Regions from separate parts of the Homo sapiens genome. Here regions 2, 3, 4, 5 and 6 are each linked to region 1. Evidence: promoter capture Hi-C in 16 types of primary human blood cells and fetal thymus (Javierre and others, 2016). All regions are on one chromosome and are shown on one strand. The core of a region is centred on a gene start or on the middle of the fragment in contact, and the rest is flanking DNA. Distances in the headings are between cores, read along the strand shown.

Region 1 (3,116 bases), core at 290-2,789:
TCTTTTCACAAATCACTTTCCCTCCCTATTTCAACCATCTTTTTTTTTTTGTAGTGGTGCCATCTTGGTTCACTGCAACCTCCGCGTCCCGGGTTCAAGCAATTCTCCTGCTTCAGCCTCCCAAGTAGCTGGGATTAGACACATGCCCAGCCAACTTTTTTATTTTTAGTAGAGACGGGGTTTCACCATATTGGCCAGGCTAGTCTCAAACTCCTGACCTTCAGGTAATCCATCTGCCTCGGCCTCCCAAAGTGCTGAGATTACAGGCGTGAGGCACTGTGTCTGCCCTCTTCAACCACCATCTAACTTCATTAACTGGGAGATACTGGGCTCCATTTCAACAGTGACCAGAAAATGTGTATCATTAACCCAAGGTACTCACCAAATAGAAGTCAAATGGGATATGTGGTACAAAGGGCCTGAACCTAAAACATGAAAAACAGCCAAATTATTCCCTAGGTAGGAATCAAGCGAGATGTAAATAACACGCCAACAATTTTGAAAACATGTCAGTCCTCAGAATGAGTGACAAAGTCTCCGGGGAGGGAAAGAATCATTCTTAGCATAGTGGGGCCAAATTCATTTAACAGGAGTGCAGGAAAAGACCACAGTTGGCTCTCGCAAAACCAAGTGACATTAGTCTACTCTAAAACTCCTATTTAGATGACAAGCAGAAACTAACAACCAAGTGCAGAGATGCTAAAAGCTGGTACTCACCCTCCTCCTGGGCCTCCTCTGGAACCAAAGCGCCCACCACGACCACGGCCTCTGTCACCCCTAGAAATGCAGATTTTATTTTGACCTCATTGAAGGAATACCCACCGGCCATATCATCTTAGGTTGGCTACTTTCATCCCTCGGAACCTCCCAACGGTAGGCAAGAGACCCCACTCACACTTACACTTGTCCCCATTCCAAATGGTGCCCAGTTACACCCCCATAACCTCCTCTAAGTTAATCCAACCCCCATCAAGTAATGATGGGGCTCAGTGAGCCCTACACTTAATAACCCATAATCCTGGGCCACACGAATCCTAATACTTCGGAGGCTAAAGATTGCTCATTTCTTCACTAAGGTACACATTTATCGGGCGTGTCCTAATGTCAAGGCCTTCGCACTGAGGATGAATGCGGCTCGCTCCAGCATTCTCAGCCCGGATGACGGGGGCGGGGGAAAGGTGGGGAGCTCCTCCAGGGGCTTGAGGACACCCCCTCATCGCAACCCTTCAGAGACAAAGGTGTCGAACCCCCCTCCCCACTCCTGGGCCCGAACCCCATCCCGGGCCCAAGTTTCCCCGCCTCTACCGGCCTCCATCTCTCCCACTATCCTAGACCAGGAGTTCTCAGGTTTTTGGCCAGCCCCCGGATACATGGCCCTTTCTGATACTCCGACTTCTTTCGGCCCACGTTCACAAAGTTTTCCGTCGAATACCTGAAACCTTTCGACCGCTTCGACCCACTTACCTCATGGCGCCTTAAAACACGAACAATGGAGGCCGCACCAACCGCCCCTTCCTCTGAGTAGCAGACAACTGAAGAGGCGTCTTGCCGGCGTGTCCCAATAAAACCCGGTGCGATTGGCTCCCGCCTTACCCCATCGCTTATGCCTATTGGCTTACTTTGTCAAACCGGGCTTATGAACCAATAAAAAACGCCTACTGTGTCAGGAACTAGCCAATAAGAACTGGTTCTATAGTAATGACGAATTTTTGATCAGACATTAGGTGGCACTAAAGAAGTCAGGACAACGACTACGTAGTGTTCTATAACAATCATGAGAAATTTTAGTTCTAGATAGCAGAGTGGCGCAGCGGAAGCGTGCTGGGCCCATAACCCAGAGGTCGATGGATCGAAACCATCCTCTGCTATCGGAGTTTTTTCATTGCCCTGTACGGCATACGTAATCTACGTTTCTTTAGTGAAGGAAAATATCTTGCCAATTTTCCTACCTCAAAAATGCAACCAATATCAGCTATTTTTGCCACTAGCAGTTGAAGTTGATGGGGAAAAGGGAGTTTAGGCAACTATGAACACTGCACGTCTACAAACTCGAAGCAGGAGAAACAGGTTTTAGATAGGAGAGGAGTATATTGATTGAATTAGTGTGGAAAACATGGTTTTCCATGTCCATGGAAACAGGTGATCCACCCGCCTCAGCTTCCGAAAGTGCTGGGATTACCGGCGTGAGCCACAGCGCCCAGCTTGGTTACATAAATTCTTTAGTGGTGATTTGTGAGATTTTGGTGCACTCATCACCCGAGCAGTATACACTGAACCCAACTTGTAGACTTTTATCCCTCACCTACCTCCCTTCCATAAGTACTTTTTCGATATTTAATTTACTACAGCAGAACGTAAACATCTTAAGTCTAAACGTATTCTGGCCACGTAACCACCATCCAGATTAAAATAAATATTATTAATTTTTAAAAAACAAGCAAACAAAAAGCGGACCGAGTGCGGTGGCTTGTGGCCACCCAGCACTGTGGGAGGCCGAGACGGGTGGATCACCCGAGGTCAGGAGTTCGAGATCAGCCTGGCCAACATGGTGAAACTCCGTCTCTACTAAAAATACAAAAATTAGCCGGCGTGCTGGCGGGCGCCTGTAATTCCAGTTACTCAGGAGGCTGAGGCAGGAGAATCTCTTGAATCCGGGAGGCGGAGGTTGCAGTGAGCTGAGATGGCGCCACTGCACCCCAGCCTGGGCGATAGAGGGAGACTCCGTTTAAAAAAAAAAAAATCTTACTTGAGGTTTGTTGAGCTTCTTGAATCAATGGCTTCAGGTTTGTCGTCCATTTATTAAATTTATCAGCTATTATCTCTTCAAGTATTAGTTTTACCTATTATTTCCCTCGTTCCTGAACTCCAAATAAAGACGGGTTAGACTTTTCCCCCAGTAATCTCTTTGTCTCTTACCCTCTCTTCTATTATTTCATTTTATTTAGACACAGGGTCTCACTCTGTTGCCCAGGCTGGAGTGCAGTGGTGCACCATCATAGCTCACTGCAGCCTCAACCTCCTGGCCTCAAGAGACTCTCCCATTTCGGCCTCCCTAGTAGTTGGGACTACTCAAAGGCACAGGCCACACCACTCCGAGCTAATTTTATTTTTTTTTT
Region 2 (3,116 bases), core at 415-2,914, 250 kb after region 1:
GGACAGAGATGGGAAGGAAGCTTACTTTTCACTTTGTACAACCACATGCATGCTTTTCTACTCAAAATATAAATTTTTAGAAAAAATGTCCTAAAAACTACAAAAGCATCAGCTCTTCTCCAACACAGATCTGTTAAACCTGTTTTAATTCCATCAGCTACAAATCCAAATCCCTCTTTTGCAGTCTGGCCTGAAAACACTGCTCTTGCCCTTTGCTGAAATATATTAAGTATCCTTCGCCTCTGCTGAAATGTATTAAGTATCCCCCCATCTCTCTCTCTCTCTTACACACACACACACGCACACACACACGCCCCCCAAATAAGCATTTATCAGAAATGAGAAAACTGGTTCTCAGGAGGCTACCTGATTTTCCAGGGGACAACAGAGAAAAGGTTGCTAGCTAGCTCAGTTAGCATCCACATGCCACCCACCACCAAGCCTCCATCTCCACCTCACTGCCAGCCCTATGAGCTAACATCTTGTGTTTGGAAGTTGATGCTGGGGAAGAATCCAAAGAGGCTACCATACCTTTATGAAACGGGAAAGCTGTACCGGGCGCGCGAATGGCACCTGAACCTCTGCACTCGCATGAGTGGCTCGCTCCTCAATGTAATTGAGAGCAGGGAGGCCAAAAGTACTCTAAGTCCCGGTGTGGTTAGGGAAGGGTAAGTTCCACCGACCCTCAGGAACTGAACTGGAAGACAGATCCAGTGTGTCCCACAAGCCCAGTCGCTGTAGAAGCTAAGTGCCCACATAGCCTGAGACAATTCTCTTCCCCTACGGGAGGGCGAGCGAACGGTGGACGACGAAATAAAGGGGTAAGGTTATGCGCTCCTGATCCCTTTCCCTAAATAAAGATAATTATCTGGTGCTTCCTTTACCCTTAGATTCCCCATTCGTCCCATCCGCCCGCAAACACAAGACTGAGCAGGGAGCGGCCCCCGCACCCTGAGGGCACCACTGGGGGTGGAGAGAGTTAAAAAAAAAAAGGGGGGGGCGCGCTAGAGAGGAAAGGAGGGGAGCATGGCGGGCATGAGGCAGGGAGTGAAAGCGGGGATGGCGGGGGAAACGGGGCGTGAGGGAGGGGAGAAAGAGTACAAGGAGACGAAATGAAGGGACACGAGCTGGGGGCGCGCGAGGCCGAAGTGAAAGACCGGGTCGCGCGCGCCAAGGGGGGAGAGGATGAGGTGAAGAAGGAGCGCGAGGCGGGGGCGCGCCGTGCCGGGGTGGGGGGAGGGGGACGCAAGGCGGGGGCGCGCGGGCGGGCGTCGGCTCGCGGGCGCTTCCCCTCCCCCCGCCCCTCCACCTTTCCCTTCCCCCACCTCCGCCACCACTGCCTCCTCCCAGCCTCCTTCCCTTCCTCGCTCCTCACCGCCCCCGGGCGGGCGGGCGGCCAGGCTGGCCTAGGCCAAAGCTCCTCACCTGGCGGTGGCGGTGTAACTCCCGGCTAGCTCGCCTCCTCAGGCGGCGGCGGAGGCGTCGAAAAAGGAAGAGGCGACGGCACAGGGGATCCAGACCCTGCTGACGGGACTAGGGACGGGGGTAGGGGAGGGGGGCGGGCCGGACCGGGGCGGGCGGGCGGAGCAGACACTGCGGTACAGACGGGGGCAGCGGCGGCGGCGACGGCTGCACCGGCGGCGGCGGCACCACACAAACAAGGACGCTGATTGGGCAGCTGCCAAGCGCCTCGGCTCCGCCTTACCCACACGCCACGACGCCCATTGGGCGACCTAAGCCGGCCACCCCGCCCTCATCTTCTCGGCCATGCCAGTAGAAGACTAGATGCCGGGACTTCACCCCACCCTTGAAGAATGAGTGGCCGGAGAAGTGATGATTGGCGTGCTTAAAACCCAATCATAAACGGAGGAGGGGGGATGGTCTAGCGGGGGCGCGTTAATGGGTACCTCTGCCAGTCCCAGACACATCCGGGTCTTCGACAGCCCATTAAGTGTCGGGGGTCAAAAAATCGCTTCAGGCTGCAACTTTACCTTAGAGACGTTTTGGTCCCCAGGCAGCCGCCGTACCCCAGTCTCTCCAAACCGGGATTCCCCTTTGGCCATCTCTCATTCTTTCAATTCTAAAGATGGAGACTGGCGAACGGCGATGGGGTCTGCGGTGGGCGGTGTTTCGTCGCGACAGACTCTAGGAAATTTCACGATAGAACTAGCTTTAGGCGCTTGAGCCTTGCCGTCTTTTTGGGGTGTGGCCTGTCTCCGTCTGCCAAAGGCTTTGAGCTTCCTGGTGTTCATCGTACCTCCGCTTGGTCCTGTCGTGACTAAACCACGACAGCAGGAAAAAAAAAAAAGCAGCTAGCCAAGTTGCTGAGGAATTACGGTGTGCAGAGCCCTCGCAGCTCCTTCTCTTGGGAACTCCTGGTCTGGTTAGGTTCTCAGCGAGGAAACAGCCTCCCACCCCGCCCGATTCCACCTAATTAACTCAAGGGCCAGCTCCTTTTGCTGGCCTCCCTGCTTCCACGGAGCAGTTAGGCCCGCCTAAACTCAGCGAGCGTTTCTGGAGCACCTTGAGGATAGGGACCAAGTAACAGAGTCCGGGTGTTAAGGTTATGATAGTAGTTAACGTTTTTGGAAAGAGACTGTGTCAGGCTCTGTGCTAAGAACTTTACATGAAGTATTTATTCCTCATGACTGTGAGGTAGGTACTGTTATCCCTACTTTACAAATGAGGAAAATTAGGATCAAAAAATTTGTCCAGTTACACGTTAAGTGGTAGAGCTGAAATTTGAACCCAAGTAGATGAGGAAACTAAGGCTCAGAGAGGTTAAGTAACTTGCCAAAGGTCAGACCGCTAGTTAGTGACTAAGCAGTGGTTTAAACCCAGAAACAACTGGTTCCACAGGCATTTTGTTATTGTTGTTTTCTCACTGTGTCTCCCAGGCTGGAGTGCAGTGGTACAATCTCAGTTCCTGCAACCTCCGCCTCCCAGGTTCAAACGATCCTCCTGCCTCAACAGCCTCCCGAGTAGCTGGGATTACAGGCGCGCGGCTAATTTTTGTGTTTTTAGTAGAGACGGGGTTTCGCCATGTTGGCCAGGCTGGTCTCGAACTCCTGACCTCAGGTGATCCTCCTGCCTCAGCCTCCCAAAGTGCTGGGATT
Region 3 (3,116 bases), core at 436-2,935, 220 kb after region 1:
TCCCAACACTATGGGAGGCCGAGGCGAGTGATCACAAAGTCAAGAGATCAAGACCATCCTGGCTAACACAGTGAGACCCCGTCTCTCCTAAAAATACAAAAAATTAGCCGGACGTGGTGGCACGCACCTGTAGTCCCAGCTACTCAGGAGGCTGAGGCAGAAGAATCGCATAAACCCAGGAGGCAGAGGTTGCAGTGAGCCAAGATCACACCACTGCACTCCAGCCTAGGCGAAAGAACAAGACTCCGTCTCAAAAAAAAAAAAAAAAACGACAGAACAAGAAACAGGCTTTCTTGCTTCCCAGCCAGCCTGGCAGCTGCTCTTGGTTGGGGGCCATCCTGAACCTAAGACAGAAAGCTGGTGGCCGCAGAGGATGAAAAAGCGGCTGGAGTTGATCAACTCTAGGCTCCAACTTATTTAAAGTGAAATTGGTCATCCTCACCAACTGCCCATCTTTAAGGAAATCCAAAACAGAGTACTAAACACCATGTTGGCCAAAACTGGCATCCATCATTACAGTGACAATAACTGTAAGGCATGTAGAAAATACTACAGAGTTTGTACACTGGCTATCGTTAACCCAGGTGATTCTGCTATCATTAAACGCATGCCAGAACAGACTGGCAAAAAGTAAACCATGCAAAGTTTTTCTTTAATAAAATGTGCCGACAGGTGCGGTGGCTCACACCTATAATCCCAGCGCTTTGGGAGGCCGAGGTGGGAGGATCACCTGAGGTCAGGAGTTCAAGACCAGCCTGACCAACATGGCAAAACCCCGTCTCTACTAAAAATACAAAAATTAGCCAGGTGTGGTGGTGGGCACCTGTAATCCCAACTACTCAGGAGGCTGAGGAAGGAGAACTGCTTGAACCTGGGAGGCGGAGTTTGCAGTGAGCTGAGATCGCACCATTGCACTCCAGCCTGGGCGACAGCGAGATTCCGCCTCAAAGAAACACACAAATAAAAAAGGAAAAGAAAGGAAAGGAAAAAGGGAAGGGAAAGGAAAGAAAGAGGTGAAAAAAAAAGGAAAGGGAAGAAAAAAGGGAAGGCAGCCGGGAGTGGTGGTTCATGCCAGTAATCCCAGCATTTTGGGAGGCCAAGGTGGGTGGGTCACTTGAGGTCAGCAGTTCAAGACCAGCCTGGCCAGCATGGTGAAACCCCATCCCTACTCAAAATATAAAAAATTAGCTAGGTGTGGTGGCGGGCACCTGTAAATCCCAGCTACTTGGGAGGTTGAGGCAGGAGAACTGCTTGAGCCCAGGAGGCAGAGTTTGTAGTGAGCTGAGATCGTGCCACTGCACTCCAGCCTGGGCAACAAAAGTGAAACTCTGTCTCGTTTAAAAAAAAAAAAAAAAAAAAAAAAGAGGTGGGGGGGAGAGGCAAAGGGAAGGAAAAAGGAGAGGGGAAGGGTAAGAGGAGGTAAGTATGGGGGGGGGGGAGGGGAGGGAAAAGAAGTAGATTAAGTTCTGTCTCCAAAGAAAGAGATGTCCTTTTTTACTGTAAACTTTTTCCAATTGTAAATTCTGTACCATGTGCATATATCACCTATCCAAAAACTGACTAAAATTTAAAAATAAAAGGAATGGCTAGATTTAACATAATTACTAAAAGACATAAGCACAATGAAAATTAGGGACAGAGTTTATGGCCGGGTGCAGTGGCTCATGCCTGTAATCCTAGCACTTTGGGAGGCTGAGGCGGGCGGATCATGAGGTCAAGAAATCGAGACCATCCTGGCCAACATGGTGAAGCCCCGTATCTACTAAAAACACAAAAATTAGCCAGGCATGGCGGTGGCAGACGCCTGTAGTCCCAGCTACTCGGGAGGCTGAGGCAGGAGAATTGCTTAAACCCAGGAGGCGGAGGTTGCAGTGAGCCGAGATCATTTCACTGCACTCTAGCCTGGCAACAGAGTGAGACTCCGTCTCAAAAAAAAAAAAAAAAAAAAAAGAAAAGACAAGACAATTAGGGACAGAATCCCCAGGCCTAGCTAGAAGCAGCATAAGTCACTCACAAAACTCAAGAGTAAAACAGGTAACAAGACTATTATAGTATATAGAACACTACCACTAGTTAAGGTAAGACACACTAAAGGCTAAAGATCAGATATCTAGGAAAAAAGATCTAGCTGACCAAATATTAAACATACTAATAAGTATTCCCTCCTATTGAATCCAAGGGAAAAATAAATAAACTGATAAGTAAAGGGGTCTTTCAGGGTCAAAGCATCATCACTCACCTAGAACTCTCTAGACTGTAGAGGGATACATGAATACATAGCTGCTCATAACAATTGACTAGTAAATGGTCAAGGAGTTTAAAATCAGAATTGATGGATAAGATATGCCAATGTGAAATTCTGGACATTCATCGCTTCTGTCCAACAATATTATAAAATAATTTTGTCATCAAAATGGGCCCAACATTAGACAGTATCCAGTAGACTTGTAAGAAACCTTTTTTTTTTTTTTTTTTTTTTGAGACAGTCTCCCTGTGTCACCCAGGCTGGAGTGCAGTTGTGCCATCTTGGCTTATTGCAACCTCTGCCTCCCGGGTTCGGGCAATTATCCTACCTCCGCCTCCCAAGTAGCTGGGACTACAGGCACGTGCCACCACGCCTGGCTAATTTTTGTATTTTTAGTAGAGACGGGGTTTCACAATGTTGGCCAAGCTGATCTTGAACTCCTGACCTCGTGATCCACCCGCCTCGGCCTCCCAAAGTGCTGGGATTATAGGTGTGAGCCACTGCGCCCGGCCAAGAAATCTTCTTTATTGAAATGAGGGAAGAAAATATTCATGCAGAGGAGTGGATCAAGTTCTGTGAGGCTGTACCTAAACACAGTACAAGAGGAAAAACTTGTCTGGTCTGGATTTTACCTAGAGGAAACTTCTAGCAGTCTATTAGCTGAGATTTGCCCATTAGCATTGATGAGCACATGGAACCTACAGGAAAAACAGTGACACTTTTCTTCAATTCAGTGACATAAAGATTTGTCAAAATTCTGACTGTTGTTACGAGGATTTGGTATAGTAGGCAGGCTTATCATTTTACAGGGCAGTAAATGTTCACCTTAAAAAGTTTATCCCAGCTGGGCACGGGCCGGCTCACATCTGTA
Region 4 (3,116 bases), core at 200-2,699, 180 kb after region 1:
GTGATCCGCCCACATCAGCCTCCCAAAATGCTGGGATTACAGGTGTGAGCCACTGCGCTCAGCCTAATAAGCCCATACTTAATTTTTAAAAAATTGTTTGTTGGCCAGGTGCGGTGGCTCACACCTGTAATCCCAGCACTTTGGGAGGCCTACGCAGGCGGATTGCTTGAGGTGAAGGAGTTTGAGACCAGCCTGGCCAACATAGTGAAACTTCGTCTCTACTAAATAAACAAAAATTAGCCAGGCGTGGTGGTGTGCGCCTATAATCTCAGCTACTCAGGAGGCTGCGGCAGGAGAATCGCTTGAACCTAGGAGGCGGAGGTTGCAGTGAGCCGGGAACGCGCCACTACACTACAGCCTGGGTGACAGAGCAAGACTCCACCTCAAAAAAAAAAAAGTTTTTTTTTGTTTTATTGTGGTAAAAACACTTAACACAAGATCTACCCTCTTAACAAATTTTCAAGTGTACAATACATTAATGTTGACTATAGGTACAGTGTTGTATGGCAGATCTCTAGAGCTTTTTCCCGTTTGACATTAATTTTACATACATTGTTTAGCAACTCCCCAATTTCTCCTCCCCCTCAGCCTTTGGCAACCACCATTTGACTCTGTCAACCTATGAATCTGACTAGATACCTCACATAAGTAGACTCACATAGTTATTTATCTTTCTGTGACTGTATTATTTCCCTTAGCATAATGTCCTCAAGCTTCATCCATGTTGTCACTCTTTGGGATCCTGATTTTATTTTGGATAAATATCTAGAAGCATGATTGCTAGACCATCTGGTAGTTCTATATTTAATATGTCAAGGAACCTCCATACTGTTTTCCATAGTGGCCGCTTGTACCATTTTGCATTCCCACCAACAGTGTGCAAGGGTTCCAATTTCTTCACTCCCTTGCCACTTAAAAAAAATAGCCATCTTGACATTGACAGGTGTGAAGTGATGATATTTCATTGTGGTTTTGATGTGTACTTCTCTGATGATTAGCAATGTTGAGCAATTTTTCATATACTTGGCCACTTTTATGTCTTCTTTGGAGAATGTCTATTCAGGTCCTTTGTCCATTTTTTTTTTAATCTTACAGTGAATTATATTGAATTCAAAGGTAGTATTCCTATTTGAGAAATAAAAAACTAAAATCAAGTTGTACAAGCAATCATCATGAGATAAATCAGTAAAGAGGCCTGCTCAGATCATACCAGAGCAGACACCAGTTTCTACCCCAGCCCGCATGAAGATGTTTTTATTCAACACAAACAGTAACAGAGGGTAACACAATGGCCACAGAATGAGAACATAAGTGCACTTGAATTTTTTGTGAGTTCTGGCTAGGCTCTAACAAGCCTAGCATTCTTTTCTTACCAGGTGAACAGAAATCATCTGCTAAAGCCAGAAACTTTAAAGCTCTTAATCCAGCTGGAAATAACTATAATTGAGGGCCTTTTTACTAGCTACTTGCTTCCCAATTTAGGGTTGCCTAGCAGGGTTAATTTCAACATAACGAAAGGTGTTAACTGGCTGGCCGCATCATTCACTGGTGACAGGGGCAAGTTTAATGAGTTTTGTGCTCAGATCGCTGGGCCTCCTGGCTGCTCTTGTCCATCTCTGCACTTTGGTCCTAAGCATTCTGAGACTCAGTCAGTTGAGGGTGAAAGGGACCTACCAGCCAGTTGAGGGGCATGTTGTTAACAAGAAATCCATCAAGTCATCTAAAGATTCCTTCATTTTCTGCAGCTGCCCCTTGCTAGAAGTGGAGGCTGTCAGACACTTCCTCAAAGGAGGCAGCATTGCAGAACACTGAGTAGATGTCGCCTGCCATCACCCTCATATGCTTGGCCTGACCTTGGATGTTCTGTGGTCATCATGGATGTTGGACAGAAGGCCGTGGCATGTGGTCTGGAGCTGCTAAGTCAGGTTGCAGGCAATAGCAAGAGTACGTGACTCGATGTGCTCTGCACAGTGGGACTCATCAGTATCATCGTATCCAATATTCCTTTTCCACTCCACCCATGAGAGCTAGAGCTTATCCTGAGCATCCTGAATTTTCTGATTGGCACTATGCACACTCTTCCTGGCAAATTCAATCAAGTGAACAGAAGAACGGAGCTGAGAAATGGTCTCTTGGCTTTTTTGCTTAGCTTCTTTAACCCTGCTGAGAGCCTGCTCATACGAAGTGAAGCTTGGTAGACAGGGAGTGAAGCTTGGTAGACAGGGATCCCAGTCTAACATAACAACTTGGCTTCTGAACCATATCATATCCTTCAACTTTTTTTGCTTCTTTTTCTAGTTCTTCCCCAGTGAGAGGGAGGTACTGTCCTACCAAGAGCTCTGATTTGGTGAGCGCATGTTCCAAGCCACTGCTCATGAGCTGCATTATCTGACTTCCTAAGCTTGTGTTAATGCTGCCACTGACACAGACTTGGGTCTTCTCCACAGTGCCAGTCACTACCCCTTTGGTCTTGTCCATCAACCCTGTGATGAATCCTTGGCCCCAGTCACAGTAGTCGTCACAGCATCTTTTGCCCCAGTCACAGCACCTTTGGCATTGGCAACAACCTGAGTTGATGGCTGATTCAGAATAGGCAGTCTCTCCTCAATCCTGTCTAGCCCCTTACAGACACGGATATTGGCAACTGCAATTTGCAGCTCTAGCTTCTGGATGATGGGCAGAGCACACTGGTCATGGCCACCGAGGTGATGGTCTTCACACCCTTCCCTGCCATCTCACACACAGACTTCAAGTAGGACACTGGTCCTTTGTACTGACATGGGCTGAGGACATGGGGTCATATGTGGAGCTCATCAAGGGCAGGTTGACCACCCGAGTCATCACACTCAGTTGTGGATCAACTGCAACAGATGCCATTTTTCTTCCTGGAGAAATAAATCAACGGACGGCAGTGAAGCGCCTATTTTTTAATATACATATATTTTTTGCTACTGAGTTGTATGAGTTCCTTACATATGTTGGAGATTAACCCCTTATCAAATATATGGTTCACAAACATTTCCTCACATTTTGTAGATTGCCTTTCCATTCTGCTGTTTGCTGTGCAGAAGCTTTTTAGGTTGATGCAGTTCCACTTGCTTTTGTTGCCTGTGTTT
Region 5 (3,116 bases), core at 310-2,809, 160 kb after region 1:
AAGACCCTGTCTCTCTCTCTTTTTTTTTATGTTTTTTTTTGGTTGTTTTTTGTTTGTTTTTGAGACAGAGTCTCACTCTGTTGCCCAGTCTGGAGTGCAGTGGCACAACCTCAGTTCACTGCAACCTCCACCTCCTGGGTTCATGCCATTCTCCTGCCTCAGCCTTCCGTGCAGCTGGGATTACAAACGCCCACCACCACGCCCAGCTAATTTTTTGTATTTTTGCTATAGAGATGGGGTTTCACCGTGTCAGCCAGGATGGTCTCGAACTCCTGACCTCGTGATCCGCCCACCTCAGCCTCCCAAAGTGCTGGGATTACAGGCATGACCACCACGCCCAGCCAAGACCCTGTCTCTATAAAAATAAAAATTTAAAAAACCTCCTGGAAATTATTTACCATTGCAGGAGGAAGTAAAACTATTAACATTTTTCTTTTCTTTTTCTTTTTTTTAAGACGGAGTTTTGCTCTTGTTGCCCAGGCTGGAGTGCAATGGTGCGATCTCAGCTCACCTCCACCTTCCAGGTTCAAGCAATTCTCCTGCCTCAGTCTCCCGAGTAGCTGGGATTACAGGCATGTGCCACCCCAGGCCCAGCTAATTTTGTATTTTTAGTAGAGAAAGGGTTTCTCCATGTTGGTCAGGCTGGTCTCGCACTCCCGACCTCAGGTGATCTGCCTGCCTCGGCTTCCCAAATTGCTGGGATTACAGGCATGAGCCACCACGCCCGGCCTAAAACTATCAACACTAACAGGAATTTGAAAGAAGTTGATTATAACTTTCATACATGACCTTTGACAGGTTCAAGGTTTCAATGGAGGAAATGACTGCAAAAGTGGTAGAAACAGCAAGAAAACTACAATTAGAAGGGAGCCTGGGCAAGGCACAGCTGGGATCCCAGCACTGTAATCCCAGCACTTTGGGAGGCTGAGACAGGAGGATCACTTGAGCCCAGGAGTTCGAGACCAACCTGGACAACAAAGTGAGACCCTATCTCTACAGAAAATAAAAAAAAAAATTAGTTGGGCACGGTGGCATGCACCTCACTCAGGAGAGTGAGGTGAGGGGATCGCATGAGCCCAGGAGTTTGAGGCTACAATGAGCTACGATCATGCCACTGCACTCCAGCTTGGGTGACAGACCACAACTGAGTCTCTTTAAAAAACAAACAAAAAACAAAAATTTGAATGGATAAGGAGTTGCTTCTTATGGATGAGCAAAGAAAGTGGTTTCTTGAGATGGAATCTACTCCTGGTAAGATGCTGTGAACACTGTTGAAATGACACCAGAAGATTTAGAATATTCCATAAACTTGAGTTGACAAAGCAGCAGGGTTTGAAAGAAATGACACCAATGTTGAAAGCAGTTCTACTGTGGATAAAATGGTATTAAACAGTACCGCATGCTATATGAAAATCTTTCATGAAAGGAGAGTCAATCCATGTGGCAAACTTCATCATCTTATTTTAAGAAACTGCCAGGTTGGGCAGGCGCAGTGGCTCATGCCTGTAATCTCAAAAAAAAAAAAAAATTGCCAGGTTACCCCAACCTTCAGCAACCACCACACTAATGGGTGAGCAGTCATCCACATGGAGGCAAGACACTCTACCAGCTAAAAGATAATGACTTGCTGAAGGCTCAGATGATTGTTAGTACTTTTTAGCAAGAAAGTGTTTTTTATTTAAGATGTATTCATTGTTTTCTTAGACATAATCCTATTGCACTTAATAGACTACAGCATAATGTAAACATAACTTTTATTTTATTATTATTATTATTTTTTTGAGACAGACTCTTGCTCTGTCGTCCAGGCTGGAGTGGAGTGGCGTGATCTCGGTTCATTACAACCTCTGCCTCCTGAGTTCAAGCGATTCTACTGCCTCAGCCTCCTGAGTAGCTGGGATTACAGGCGCGTACCACCATGCCCAGCTACTTTTTGTATTTTTAGTAGAGACAAGGTTTCACCATGTTGACCAGGCTGGTCTCAAACTCCTGACTTCAAGCAATCCTCCCGCCTCAGCCTTCCAGAGTGCTTGGATTACAGGCGTGAGCCACTGCGTCTGGCCTAAACATAACTTTTATATACACTGGGAAACCAAAAAATTTGTGTGACTTGCTTTATTGCAATATTTGCTTTATTGTGGTGGTCTGGAATGGAACATACAAAATCTCTGAGGTATGTCTATACTTTAGAAAAGTACACAGTAAGGCAGTGGCTTGTGTGTGTAATCCCAGTGACACAAGAGGATCATTGGAGGCTGAGAGTTTGAGACCATCCTGGGAGACTCATCTCTAAAAAAAAATTTGTTTTTTTTTTTTTTTTTTTAGACAGTCTGTCACCCAGGCTGGAGTGCAGTGGCACAGCCTCGGCTCACTGCAAGCCTCCCAGGTTCAAGTGATTCTCATGCCTCAGCCTTCCAAGTAGCTGAGATTACAGGTGTTCGCCACCATACTCGGCTAATTTTTGTATTTTTAGTAGAGACGAGGTTTCTCCATGTTGGCCAGGCTAGTCTTGAACTCCTGACCTCAAGTGATCCGCCCACCTTGGCCTCCCAAAGTGCTGGGATTACAGGCGTGAGCCACTGCACCCAGCCTAAAAAAGTTAAAAAAAAAAGGCATGGTGACTGAAGTGGGAAGATCATTTGAGCCCAGGAGTTTGAGGCTGCAGTGAGCTATGATTGCGCCACTCTACTCCAGCCTGGGTGACAGAGCAAGACCCTGTCTCTTAAGTACACATAGCAAGATATACACATTTAAGTTGATATACTACAGTATTCTAAGTTTTGAGATATATTCACGTGCACTGATAGTATATGACAAAACAACAAAATTCAATAACCTAGAGCTAGAGTTTGGGGTGCCATCATTACCTTGGCTCCTTGAATTGACAATTATACAAACAGCTGAAAGTAAGTCAAATAATTTCCCCTTACTATACATTAATGATTCAAGAAAGAAACTGACCCATCAGAGGTTGTGAGAAACCAGAACCCAGATACCTGAATGTCTGAGGTAAGTCTTTCCTAATAGATAGCTTGAGAATTCTGACCAATCTATCCACGGCTACTCTTTGTCTTTACTAATCTATAAACCTCAACTTTATGCACTCACAACCATGC
Region 6 (3,116 bases), core at 552-3,051, 140 kb after region 1:
GAGGGCAGGTATTAAAAGAGGAAATAACATTCCCTTCCACTCTACCCTCGGGCTGCAGAGTTGGAGATGGAAAGGAAGCAGAATTTACCAGTATCTGGTCACACTTGGTTAGCTTTATTTCAACAGCAACTTTCTTTTTCTTTTTTGAGATGCAGTCTCATTCTGTCACCCAGGCTGGAGTGCAGTGGTGTGATCTCCGCTCACCTCTGCCTCCCAGACTCAAGCAATTCTCCTGCCTCAGCCTCCAGAGTAGCTGGAATTATAGGCGCGTGCCACTACTGCCCGGCTATTTTTTGTATTTTTAGTAGAGATGGGGTTTCACCATGTTGGCCAGGCTAGTCTTGAACTCCTGACCTCAAATGATCCAACGGCCTCAGCCTCCCAAAGTGCTGGGATTACAGGCATGACCCACTGCACCCAGCCAATTAATTTTGTTTGCTTATTTATCTGAGACAGAATTTCGCTCGTTGCCCAGGCTGGAGGTGCAGTGGCACAATCTCAGCTCACTGCAAGCCCCACCTCCCAAGTTCAAGCGATTCTCCTGCCTCAGCCTCCCGAGTAGCTGGGATTACAGGCACCAGCCACCACGCCGGGCTAATTTTTTGTATTTTCAGTAGAGATGGGGTTTCATCATGTTGGCCAGGGTGGTCTTGAACTCCTGACCTCAGGTAATCCACTCGCTTTGGCCTCCCAAAGTGCTGGGATTATAGGCATGAGCCACCACGCCCAGCCAATTTTTTGTATTTTTAGTAGAGACAGGGTTTCACCATGTTGGTCAGCCTGGTCTTGAACTCCTGATCTCAAGTGATTCGCCTGCCTCGGCCTCTCAAAGTGCTGGGATTACAGGTGTGAGCCACCGCGCCCTGCACAGCAACTTTATTTCAATCCCCACTCATATTCCTAAGCTTTAGGAAAAGGGGACTTCCTGAAATTTCGGTCCTACCAAGAATAATGAACATGCTTCTGATGGTATGGGAGAGACAAGTGAAACAGTGGTGAGAGGAAGATGAATAAGACAGAGAGATAGAATCATTAAATCAGCTTTGATTTTGAGGCTGCAGATTGTGCAGAAGCATCCCTGGATCATTCAAACAGAACAGTTAACCCTGCTGTCCCGGCCAAAAGAGATCAATAACCACATGTCTACTGAAGGGATATTAAAAGTTAAATTGATAATGGTAGGATCTGGGTCATTTTCACCACCAAAACCCTAGTGCATTGTGGGTGGCACTTAATATGAATTTAGCAAACATTTGCTGAGTAACAGAAGAGTGAGAGTGTATGCCCTAAAGAAAGAACAGAAAGTAAAGGAACAATTCCCTTAAAGGGGCTGCTACAGAACTGTATACTAACTAACAGCTGACCCATGAGAAACATTTTCAGATTAATCCTTCTTACCTGGCATACCAAGGAGGCCACCTGGCACAGACAACTGGGGTGCCTGTGCAAAGTTTGAAAGCATGGAGCGGGCAGATGTGGGTATGCCACGCTGGAGGCTGCTCTGGGGCTGTGGAGCCTGCAATGATGAGGAGACAGTGGATACAACTTTGATATGATAGAATGTTAAGCGGGGGCAAAGATAAGGGAGTACAGAAGAAGACTATGATTTCCCACAATAGAAAGGACAAATTGTGATAAATGGCTGATAAATCTTCTAAAGAAATCAGGATCAGGCAAAAAGTTCCTTACCTGCCGAAGCGTATGATGTCTCATGATGGTCTCTTGTTTACTGACACTGGACACAGCTGGAGCCGTAGTGGGGGAGAGGGCTGCCTGCTGCTGTAATCGCTGTTCAATTTCCTGTTGGGAGTCATCACATCAGGTGATTGAGCAGGACAGCACCCAATACCCAATTTCCTTTTTTTTTTTTTTTTTTAAACAGAGACACAATCTGACTTTGTTGCCCAGGCTGGTCTGGCACTCCTGGGCTCAAGCAATCCTCTCACCTTAGCCTCCCCAAAGTGCTGGGATTACAGGCATGAATCACTGCACCTGGCCCACCCAATTTCCTAACCAGAAAACCTGGAGGTGTTCTTACCTCTAATGTTGTTGGCTAGTTGGTGGAATATGGAAAAGGCAAAAGAGTTTGGTGGGGGTGGTACACTGAGATTTCTGGGTATAAGCAGCTAACTTGCTTCAATGATCAAGGGATCCTCCTCTCTTTCTCCAGGAAAGCTGGCTCTAAGAAGTTGGCTGGAGGTGATGAACCAACTGATATAATTAAGGCTGATGAATTACTGGGGTTTTATTTTATCACTTTTTCTTTTCTCTTTTTAAAAATTTTTATTTATTTATTTTTTACCACCAGTCCTAGAGCATAAATGGGGTTTTATTTTTGACTCCTGCCTACCCGATCTTCCAAAAAGTCCATGATGCTACTCAAACAAGGGACTCTGATGGGTGGAGTGGGAAATAGGAAGAAAAGGATCTGAGTTTCCCAACACATTTTTCCTTCTCTAAGATATTCTCATCCTATAACTGCTACATGAGATGTTCACATACTCTAGAACCACTACTCTTCACTGGGCTACTTCATAATTCACTCTTTCTTTCGTCATTTCTTATCAAACACGCACTGCAAATAACTGTTTCAAAGAGATTTATAGCACAAATATAAATTCCTCCCACCAAAATCTATTATTTGTTTTAGGAAAAAATGAAGATGAGAATAGAGTGCTATGGAAAAGCCAAGAGTCCCAAGCTTTCTGTCCCTTTCTGTTAACCTCAGCCATTATATTTTACCATGTTCTTAATCAGAATACTCGCTCAAATGGAAATAGGACACAATGATAAGGAGACAAAAAGGGAACCTGTGGACCTGTAGGGATCACATGAACCACTCCTGCAAACTAGAAGGCGCGACCCTTTGGAAAAAACAAACTGGGACAGGTGGCCAGTGAGCAGTCAGAATTCTTACCTGTTCCTGCTGTAGGGCTTTCACAAATGCATTTTTCAGCCGGTTGGTGTGTTCAGCTTTTAGAGCCTTTTTCTGGTTGGAGGTCATACACTGCTCACATAGAATCTTACCATTCTTTTCTTGCTTCCAGTGAGGGGTGAAATCTGTGCGGCACTGGGCACATACAAAGGGTTCAACCCGCAGAAGTGAGGCACAGCTT

Evidence for each region. Contacts are between HindIII fragments. The CHiCAGO score rates a contact against its expected background, and 5 or more counts as called.
Region 2: a contact is called between the fragment with the promoter of GATAD2B here and the fragment with the promoter of ILF2 in region 1, in 11 of 17 cell types (M2 macrophages, M1 macrophages, M0 macrophages and 8 more). The highest score is 15.3, in M2 macrophages.
Region 3: a fragment that was not itself captured here is called in contact with the fragment with the promoter of ILF2 in region 1 in 1 of 17 cell types (M2 macrophages); the score reaches 5.0 in M2 macrophages.
Region 4: a contact is called between a fragment that was not itself captured here and the fragment with the promoter of ILF2 in region 1, in 5 of 17 cell types (M2 macrophages, M1 macrophages, naive B cells and 2 more). The highest score is 9.1, in M2 macrophages.
Region 5: a contact is called between a fragment that was not itself captured here and the fragment with the promoter of ILF2 in region 1, in 1 of 17 cell types (M2 macrophages). The highest score is 5.3, in M2 macrophages.
Region 6: a fragment that was not itself captured here is called in contact with the fragment with the promoter of ILF2 in region 1 in 4 of 17 cell types (M0 macrophages, M2 macrophages, M1 macrophages and 1 more); the score reaches 9.6 in M0 macrophages.

The regions. Positions count from the first base shown.
Region 1 is chr1:153,669,454-153,672,569 of GRCh38, forward strand. ILF2 (interleukin enhancer binding factor 2) reads right to left here and starts at 1,540. Exons shown (of 14, transcript NM_004515.4): 1 at 1,465-1,540; 2 at 718-777; 3 at 383-425. The coding sequence starts at 1,469. TRX-CAT1-1 (tRNA-iMet (anticodon CAT) 1-1) reads left to right here and starts at 1,797; the gene lies at 1,797-1,868. RefSeq lists a silencer at 1,560-1,939 and enhancers at 1,980-2,119, 2,670-2,749, 2,760-2,809. The HindIII fragment of the contact is 12,664 bases long and covers 1-3,116 here.
Region 2 is chr1:153,921,308-153,924,423 of GRCh38, forward strand. It overlaps GATAD2B (GATA zinc finger domain containing 2B), which reads right to left and starts at 1,665. Exons shown (of 11, transcript NM_020699.4): 1 at 1,426-1,665. LOC101928059 (a long non-coding RNA gene) reads left to right here and starts at 2,066. Exons shown (of 4, transcript XR_922160.3): 1 at 2,066-2,655. RefSeq lists silencers at 1,449-1,768, 2,446-2,740 and an enhancer at 1,899-2,138. The HindIII fragment of the contact is 8,959 bases long and covers 19-3,116 here.
Region 3 is chr1:153,890,236-153,893,351 of GRCh38, forward strand. The region is part of intron 1 of GATAD2B (GATA zinc finger domain containing 2B); the gene reads right to left. Among named protein-coding and RNA genes, the nearest start is that of GATAD2B, 31 kb to the right of the region's middle. The HindIII fragment of the contact is 4,322 bases long and covers 1-3,116 here.
Region 4 is chr1:153,850,536-153,853,651 of GRCh38, forward strand. The region is part of intron 1 of GATAD2B (GATA zinc finger domain containing 2B); the gene reads right to left. It also overlaps the pseudogene LOC645965. Among named protein-coding and RNA genes, the nearest start is that of GATAD2B, 71 kb to the right of the region's middle. The HindIII fragment of the contact is 1,477 bases long and covers 712-2,188 here.
Region 5 is chr1:153,833,960-153,837,075 of GRCh38, forward strand. All of the region lies in intron 1 of GATAD2B (GATA zinc finger domain containing 2B), which reads right to left. Among named protein-coding and RNA genes, the nearest start is that of SLC27A3, 60 kb to the left of the region's middle. The HindIII fragment of the contact is 5,159 bases long and covers 1-3,116 here.
Region 6 is chr1:153,810,333-153,813,448 of GRCh38, forward strand. It overlaps GATAD2B (GATA zinc finger domain containing 2B), which reads right to left. Exons shown (of 11, transcript NM_020699.4): 8 at 2,918-3,116; 9 at 1,690-1,800; 10 at 1,399-1,516. Among named protein-coding and RNA genes, the nearest start is that of SLC27A3, 36 kb to the left of the region's middle. The HindIII fragment of the contact is 1,796 bases long and covers 904-2,699 here.